Linked DNA regions of Homo sapiens: region 1 is linked to region 2. The links are contacts of gene promoters, found by promoter capture Hi-C in blood cells and fetal thymus (Javierre and others, 2016). All regions are on one chromosome and are shown on one strand. Each heading gives the region's core, a stretch centred on a gene start or on the middle of the fragment in contact. The rest is flanking DNA. Distances are from core to core; before and after follow the strand shown. Region 1 has its middle 4.0 kb from the start of LINC01530. Region 2 holds the start of KLK14 (kallikrein related peptidase 14).

The links. Contacts are between HindIII fragments. The CHiCAGO score rates a contact against its expected background, and 5 or more counts as called.
Region 1: a fragment that was not itself captured here is called in contact with the fragment with the promoter of KLK14 in region 2 in 1 of 17 cell types (fetal thymus); the score reaches 6.7 in fetal thymus.

What each region holds. Positions count from the first base shown.
Region 1 is chr19:51,596,273-51,600,477 of GRCh38, forward strand. It overlaps the pseudogene LOC339352. Among named protein-coding and RNA genes, the nearest start is that of LINC01530, 4.0 kb to the left of the region's middle. The HindIII fragment of the contact is 468 bases long and covers 1,115-1,582 here.
Region 2 is chr19:51,080,590-51,085,102 of GRCh38, forward strand. KLK14 (kallikrein related peptidase 14) reads right to left here and starts at 2,298. Exons shown (of 6, transcript NM_001369775.2): 1 at 2,133-2,298; 2 at 1,986-2,047; 3 at 943-1,114. The coding sequence starts at 2,025. The HindIII fragment of the contact is 24,105 bases long and covers 645-4,513 here.

The sequences.
Region 1 (4,205 bases), core at 99-2,598, 510 kb after region 2:
GGCACTGAGATATGAGAGGCCTAGATGGGATCTTCCGTGGGGCATTTGGAGGGCCAGGCTGGTGGACATTGCGATTCAGAGTCACCCACAAACAGAATGAGAAGAGGGGTGATGGGCAGGATATGAGGACTGTGAAGAGGCCTCCCCAGAAGATATTAAGCAGGAGGCAAAAAACAAGAACAAAGAGGGAGGACTAAATCAAAAGCTGTGGGAGAAAGTATTTCAAAGGGGACTTTGCTCCGCTGTGACAGATGTACCTGACATCACCGCAGTTGAGTCCTGAGGGCTGCTTGATGGCTCAGTGACAGGGAAGAGTGCTTTGGGCAAAGAGAAGAGCCAGTGAAAACAACTAGAGACAAGAGTGTTCCTGGGGGTACTCAAGAGTAGACACCAGTAAGCAAGAAGGAGAGTGGAAGGAGATGAGGACAGAGAAACAAGGAGCCAGAGCCTGTAGGGCCTCGTCGGCCATTAGCAGTTACATTTTGTTTTTTGTTTTTTTGAGACAGAGTCTCGCTCTGTCACCCAGGCTGGAGTGCAATGGCACGATCTCGGCTCACTGCAACCTCCGCCTCCCAGGTTCAAGCAATTCTCTGCCTCAGCCTCCCAAGTAGCTGGGATTACAGGTGCCCACCACCATGCCCAGCTAATTTTTTTGTATTTTTAGTAGAGACAGGGTTTCACCATCTTGGCCAGACTGGTCTTGAACTCCTGACCTTGTGATCCACCCGCTTCGGCTTCCCAAAGTCCTGGGATTACAGGCGTGAGCCACTGTGCCCAGCCAGTAGTTACTAAAGTGAGATGAGATGCAGGGCAGGATCCCACTGGCTGTTATATGAAGGAGTGTGTGTGGAGGAGGCAAGGCAGGGAGCATGGAGACCTGTGAGGAGCCCCCTGCAGCCATCTAGGAGAGAGGCAGACCTGACTAGGGTGCTGCCATGGAGATGGTCAGAAGTGTTTGGCTGTTTTGAAGCTATAGTCAAACAATATGTGTGACTTTTCATTTGAGCACCTGGAGTTTGAAAGGGTCCGGACTTAGCATTGCAATTTGGCTCCACCCACTGGGAGAGTGACAACTGTAGTGATAGAAAGAGCAGTCCAGGGTCCTGGACCCCAAAGCTTCTGGCCTGAGCAGCTGGAAGGGATGGAGCTGCCCTGTACTCCAGGAGAAGCCCGTTAGGTTAGAGGAATCAGGAATTTGGGTTTTGAGATGCTTATTAGACATCTGAGTGGCACTGGTCTTTACTTGCATGTAAGTTAGAGACGGTAAATACACAGTCATATGAAATAATTCCACACATTGTGGTAAATCCTAGAAGCAGCGTGACCTGCTCTGAATGGCAAGGATGTGACGGCAGTAGTGCAGGCTGGAGGTGGTGGTGGCTTGAGGAGGGGGACTAAGCCTGGGGAGTTTTTATGGGTTCACCAGACAAGTGGGACGAAGGAGGTTCGATGGGACAGTTAGAGTCTTGGCTGGGTGGGGAGGGATGAGGTAGGAAAGAGAACAGTTGGGGGCCAAGGATGAGCCAACCCCATCACTGACCCCTCCCCTCCCAACCTCTCTGTGTCTTTCGGGGGCCACAGAAGCTTAGGTGGATTCTGATACCAGAGCGGGGTTAAGTTCAGAACTGGAGGCCTACACACCCTCACCTCAAAAATAGGTGCAACCCCTGCTAGTCTCCCTAGAGGTTGATCTAGCCTGCCTGTGTATGTCCTTGTAAGACACAATCAGGACCCATTCCTGGAGACAGAATGCCCACCCCGACCCCTGAAAGTGAAATCCAATTGGTCTTTTCTGTATAGCCCCCTTCCCTTGAACAGAGCATGACCTCCCTCTGTCCTTAAGAGTCTCTGACCCCTCCCCTCCCAATCTCTCTGAATAGTCAGTAATATCTACCTTCTGATCAGGGCTGTAACATGGGTGGCCTCCTGGAAGTTGTTACAACTGGTCCTTAATAGACGCCCTCACCCCTTTGGACAGGACACGATCTAATTCTGGGTATAACCTGCTTGTTGCTCCCTCTTTTTCCCCCTGAAATCAGCTTAAGTTCCTTCTCTTCTTGGTGCATAATGGGTGCAGTCCAGGAAGCCTTCCTGGAGGCAGTGGCCTTCTTACACCAGAACCCATTTATAACCCACGTATATAAGAGCAGCAGCCACAGCTGCCCCTGGTCTATTCCAGGCAGGGGCACTATCTAGGGAACTCCTCAAAGGCAATGAAACATGTGTAACCCGCCTCCTCTCCCGGTCTAGGAGAAGCTGTCCCTTCTTGCAATGCCCGCCCCGTCATGTGCCTCCTGCCACGTGGCATGCGCCTCCCTCCGCCGTCCATGCTCGGGCCAAGTGCTGTGCGGTTCCTGCTTCTGCACCGCCTTCGAGGCGGAGGTGCAGCACATGGTGCTTGTGGGCTACCTGCTGCCGCCAGGCGCAGTGGTGGCCCTGGGCACCTCGGGCGGCAAGGATTCCACGGTGCTGGCACACGTGCTGCGCACGCTGGCACCGGGCCTGGGCATCTTACTGCAGCTCATGGCTGTAGACAAGGGCATCGGGCGTGGCTTAGCGGGAGGATCCCAGTAAGGAGCTGGGGAAATACGCATGTGCCTATTTAGGGCCGGAGCCTACTGAAGGCTCATGTGGGTAGTACGTGTGGCTCCCTACGATGGAGTAAGGCAGGTTTTTCAAGCCTCTGGGTCTCTGACATCATCTTAGTGAGAGATGAAGCTGGCTGGGCTTCTGGGTCAGGTGGGCACTTGGAGAACTTTTCCGTCCAGCTAAAAGATTGTAAACACACCAATCAGTGCTCTGTGTCTAGCTAAAGGTTTGTAAACGCACCAATCAGCACTCTATAAAACCAGACCAATCAGCACTCTGTAAAACCAGACCAATAAGCACTCTGTAAAATGGACCAATCAGCGCTCTGTAAAATGAACCAATCAGTGCTCTGTAAAATGGACCAATCAGCAGAATGTGGGTGGGGCCAAATAAGGGAATAAAAGCTAGCCACCGAGCCTGCAGCGGCAACTCATTTGGGTCCCCTCCCACGCTGTGGGAGATTTGTGCTTTTGCTCTTCACAATAAATCTTGCTGCAGCTCGCTCTTTGGGTCCGCACTACCTTTATGAGCTGTAACACTGCGAAGGTCTGCGGTTTCACTCCTGAAGTCAGCGAGACCAAGAACCCAGGGGAAGGAACCAATTCTGGACACATTGGTACACACATTGGCAGGTAGAGGGGCTACCTTGTAGGAGCTAAGGCTGGAATACTCTGCTATCATTATTATTATTATTATTATTATTTTGAGATGGAGTCTCACTATGTCACCTAGGATGGAGCGCAGTGGTGCAGTCTAGGCTCACTGCAACCTCCGTGTGCCAGGTTAAAACGATTCTCCTACCTCAGTCTCCTGAGTAGCTGGGCTTACAGGTGCCTGCCACCACACCTGGGTAATTTTTCTATTTTTAGTAGAGGGAAATGACTTTGTATCTCCCTTCACAAAGAGAGATGTGAAGAGGTGTCTCTCATCGAAAGTCACACAGTCTGAAATGCTACTGTGTCTCTTAACTCCTTTTCTTTATAGGTTTCTCTCTGACAACTCTTATTTTCTCTCAATGATTACTTCAATAAGTAATCATCGTCCATTGACTAAATACCAGATACAAGCTGTGTAGCCTAGAGCAAATTACTTAACCTCCGTTTCATCTTTTGTAAAATGGGGATGTTAATAATATCTGGGTCCTTGAGTTGGGAATTAGATGAGTTATATATAAAGCACTCAGACTAGAGGCTGAAAAACAGTAAACATGATGTAAATGTTTGCTGTTATGATGATCCACAAGAGCACAAGACAGTCTCTGCTCCTGCCTGATTCTCACGAATGTAATTATAACCTGACGAGTGCTACTACGGAAAATTACACAGAATGTGTGAATTTATATCAGGGGGTACTAGTGGCGGGGAAAAGGTGGGGATTAAGGAAACGTTTCCTGAGTGAACTGAGACCCGAAGGCTCAGTGAATAACCAGGTGAAGGATGAGTTGGAGTTTGGGCGGGGGGTGTTCTGAGCTGAGGTCACAGAGAGGCAAAGGCCTTGAGGAGGGGAAATATGACCAACTTGAGAAGCCCGAAGAAGAACAGCATTTTAATATACAGACTCAAGTATAAGATGACAAAATGCAGAATAAACGTAGTTTCCATTTAAATTGTATGGCG
Region 2 (4,513 bases), core at 1,048-3,547:
GTCTGGGTTGTAAGTTCAGATCTAGAATTTAGGAGGGGTCTAGGTTTTATATGGGGCTTCTGATTAGGATCTGCATTCTGGGATTTATTGATTGATTGATTGATATGGAGTTTCGCTCTTGTTGCCTAGCCTGGAGTGCAATGGTGCGATCTTGACTCACTGCAACCTCCGCCTCCCAGGTTCAAGTGATTCTCCTGCCTCAGCCTCCCGAGTGGCTGGGATTACAGGCATGTGCCACCATGCCTGGCTAATTTTGCATTTTTAGTAGAGACAGGGTTTCTCTATGTTGCTCAGGCTGGTCTCGAACTCCTGACCTCAGGTGATCTGCCTGCCTCAGCATCCCAAAGTGCTAGGATTATAGGCATGAGCCACCGCACCCGCCACATTCTGGGATTCAAACACTGGGTTGAAGTCTGCTCATAGCGGAGCTATAGACTAGACTCTGAACTAAACCTTGGGTGTGAAACAGCCTCCAGGTTTTGCCTCTATTCTTAGAGTTGTATGTTCCAGCTGTGAGCAGCGTTCTAGTTCTGGATTTATGGCTAGACTGCAGGTCCTGAACTGGGCTCTGAGTTCTACGTAGTGTCCTGAGTTTCTGAATGTAGACGGGGTCCTGAATTCAGCCACCAATCTGGAATGGGCTAAGCTTGGTCTCGATGTAATGTGTGGCCTCTGGAAGAATCACTGGATCAGATGTTCGGTTCTCAGCAGGTCCATGGGTTCCAAGCTGCCCATCTGCTTTCAGAACCTATGCTGAGTTCGAGATTTATGGAGGAGCCCACATCCCGAGCTGTGTTTTTGTTCCAGGCTCTTCTCTAGACCTCAAACCAGGAGCCAGCCACTACATTGGGTTCTATACAGAGATCCAGGTTCTCAGCTCAGCTCTAGGGCTTTAGACTCTGGAATTCACTAGGTACAGGGACAGGGGAGGGGGTCACTTACGGGCGGCCGCAGTGAGCAGCAGTGATGACCCACTGGCCTGAAAGCAGGGCGCCTCCGCAGAGGAAGCGGCGCCTGGGACCCGCCAGCAGGGCCGCCTGCCACGGCTGGGAGCTCCGGGTGCACGTATGGCCACCAATTATCTTGTTCTCATCCTCTTGGCTCTGTGTCATGGCTAGGAGTGGACAGGATTGGGTGGGGAAAGTAGATGAGCAAACACTCTCCACTCCACAAGTTTGTAGGATTCCAAAACTGACAAATCCCCTTCCTTTTGGTCTAACCCCTAAACTGCCCGCCTCTATCTGTCCCACCCAGGGTGAGACATGCCCAATATTGACCCCGTTATTGCCCCAGCACGGAGAGCTTTCTGACTCACCTCCCAAGTCACCTCCGTAGCATCTCTTATTTTGTGCCGTGGCCACCTTATCCAGGGCCTTGCTACATCTACGACCCTTAGCTCTATGCTCCCATAATTTCTGTGATCACTTCTCGAAATATGCCACATTTCCCCCCAATGAGTCCTTCCCCAACACATTCAAGGACCTCCCTGTCTCCTCCCCAACGTTCCCACTCAGTGGGACCCCAAGGATCCGCCATCTCTTGCCCCACACTTGCCCCCATCCACCTCACACACCCATGCCACGATCCCGCCACCCCATGCCACGATCCCGCCATCCCATCATCCTTCTCCACCTTCCCTCTGACAACAAAACATCTTTCTGACATTGTTTCTTTCCTAACACAGTCAGGTAGAGCCCCGTGATCTTTCTGCTATGACCCACTCAGGACCTAATAGTTCCCTAAGATTCCTTATGTATTTTGCACCAGACCTTATAAACACCTCTCTCCCCGGCCCCACAATTCCCTAGCACCTCCACAACTAGGAATTTAGGCCTCCAGCACGTTCCCCCACCATGACCCCCAAACCACTCCCTGCTCTTTCTTATGAGGTCACCATGAGCATCCAGGGGCCCCAAGGACCCATCCCCATCTCTTCTCAGAGTCTCCAGGGGACCCCCTTGTGTCATACCCAACCGTTCTCTTACCTATAGCCAGGACTTGAAGTGCTGTCAGCAGGAGGAACATTTTAGGGGCTGAGGGCCAGGTCCTGTCAAATGCAGAGAAAAAGTGAGAGAGAAGGAACCTTCAACAGAACCGGGGGCTGAGAGGCAGAGACAGCAAGGGGCACTTACCCAGAGCCCAAGACCCTCAGGGACATGAAGACACAGCAGAGAGGTAGGGACCAGAGACGAGGGGGGCGGGGCCTGCAGGCTCTGCGGGCGGCAGGTGGGAGGATGTGGAGCAGGGCACAGGTCCCTCCTTGATGTCTTGATGAAGGAAGGAGGGGAGGTGTCTCTCTTCCTAGTCACACTGGCAAAGCCTTTTATCCCTGGTAAGGACAGCTGGCCCTGCCCCCACCTCCCGCCGCCCTGCTTCTGACATTTTTTTTTTTTTATTGCCTAGTTCCCATTCCAGGACTCCCTGATCCCATCCCCTCCCTCCCCTGTCTGGCCAAAAAAGCAGCCACAATTGTTCATGAGAACCCGCCCAGGGAAGATGCTATAATCTAGAAGGAATCCTGGGAGGGGACCCCAGGGCAGGGTGGGCAGGGGAGGGTTCCCAGTTGCTGGAGGTGGTGGATCTAGTGGTGGAGTCAGGAAACCAGGGTGGGGAGTGTCAGAGGAAAGGGCACGAAGGGGCTGAGAGAGGGAGGAAGAGATGGACTGAGAGAGGGAGTCACGGGAGGAGGGAGAGAGGGAGAGAGAGAGAGAGAGAGAGAGAGACAGAGAGAGATGGAGAGAGAGAAAGACAGAGAGACACACAGACAGAGAGAGACAGAGACAGGGTGACGGGGGGGAGAGAGAGAGAGAGATGGAGAGAGAGACAGAGAGAGAGCCAGACAGAGAGACACAGAGAGAGAGAGAGAAAGAGAGAGACAGAGACAGAGTGACAGAGAGGGGGAGAGCAAGAGACAGAGAGAGACTGGGAAAATGAATGAGAAGATATGACAGTGGAGAGAGAGGAGTCCAGGAATACGAGCACAGAGGCAGGTGTGCTCATGAGAGAAGGAACTGAGGAGAGAGCTGGAGAAACCGGTGGAAGTTGGATGTGACAGGGAACAGAAGAGGCAGACGGTGGGAAAAAAACAAGACAGAGGAAGAGGGAGACACAGAGACGCAGGGAGAGAGGGGTGTGGAGAAGTGGAGATAGAAAAGCAAAAGACGGAGGGAAGAAGGTGGAGATAGAATGGAAACAGACACACAGAAAGAGAAAACAGTGGAGAGAGAGGAGAGAGGCCGAGACGCCCCCACCATGCGGCACTCACCACAAACACACACAGAACAACAGCGATGATGATGAAGGCAGTGCGGGCATGAGACGTGGAAGAGAACGGGACATGGTGGGAGAAAGAGGATGGGACAGGCAGGCCGATGGCAGAGGGGAGACGGGAAGGATGGGCACCTACAGGGGATGGGGACAATGACAGAGGAGACGGAGGCCTAGATGAGAGATGGCAGCGCCAGGGAGAGATGGAGAGGAGGGGTGGGATAGAGGACGGGCAGGAGGTGGGCGGGAGATACCTGGACCTGGAGCAGAGCTGCCCACCTTGCTTTCTCACTTTCGACTCCTGAGAGATGGGGGAGCAGAGGCCCCAGCAGGGAGCAGGAAGGTTGGTGCCAGAACTGGCATTCCCCAGCTTGGGATCTGCTAGGTGCAGAGACAAAGTGAGAGCTGGAGATGCAAAGAGAGAGTGACAGAGACCCAGAGAGGGGGACAGAGACCCAGAGGGAGAGGGAGAGAGACCCAGAAAGAGAAGGGGACAGAGATTCAGAGACAGAAGGACAGTCTTAACAGACGGGGTTGGAAATTCAAAATAGGAGACGGCAGAGAGCAGGAGAGACAGAGTGAATGAGATGGGGAAGGATTCTGGCCAGCCTGCAGGGGGGTTCTGGAGTTGGGGGGGTTCCATCCTCATTTGGGGGAGGGCCTACCCTCCTCAGCCCCTCCCCTAGCCCCTTAAATTCCCCAGTGCTTGTGTCCGTCTCTGGGCCTGGGCAGCCCCGTACCTGGACCACGTGGTGACTCAGGAGGCTGCTTGCCTCCCTTGGCTACCCCAACTGTTCCCCGGCCTCAGCCTGACTCAGCCTCCCTCCACCTCGGCACCCCCCTAGGCTGGCTCTTTGAGCTGGAGCTTGGCCTGGGTCTGTCTGTACACCTGGGGACGCACTGTCTGGGCACCTGCATCTGGAGCCACACACCCATCTCTCCCCAGGTGCCTTTCTGTGATTCCTGAACTGTTTCTGTTTAACTATGGGCCTCCCTGCTTTGAGCTGAAGGCCTTGGGAAGCCTTCCCGGCCTCCTCTGCCTTGGTTCAGGCTCGGCATCAACACAAGAACCCCCTCTTTATTTTTAAATTTTTAAATTTATTTTATTTATTTATTTATTTTATTTTTTTTTCTTTTTTTCTTTTTCTTTTTTTTTTTTTTGAGACAGAGTCTCACTCTTTAGCCCCGGCTGGAGTGCAGTGGCTCAATCTCGGCTCACTGCAACCTCTGCCTCCTGGGTTCAAGC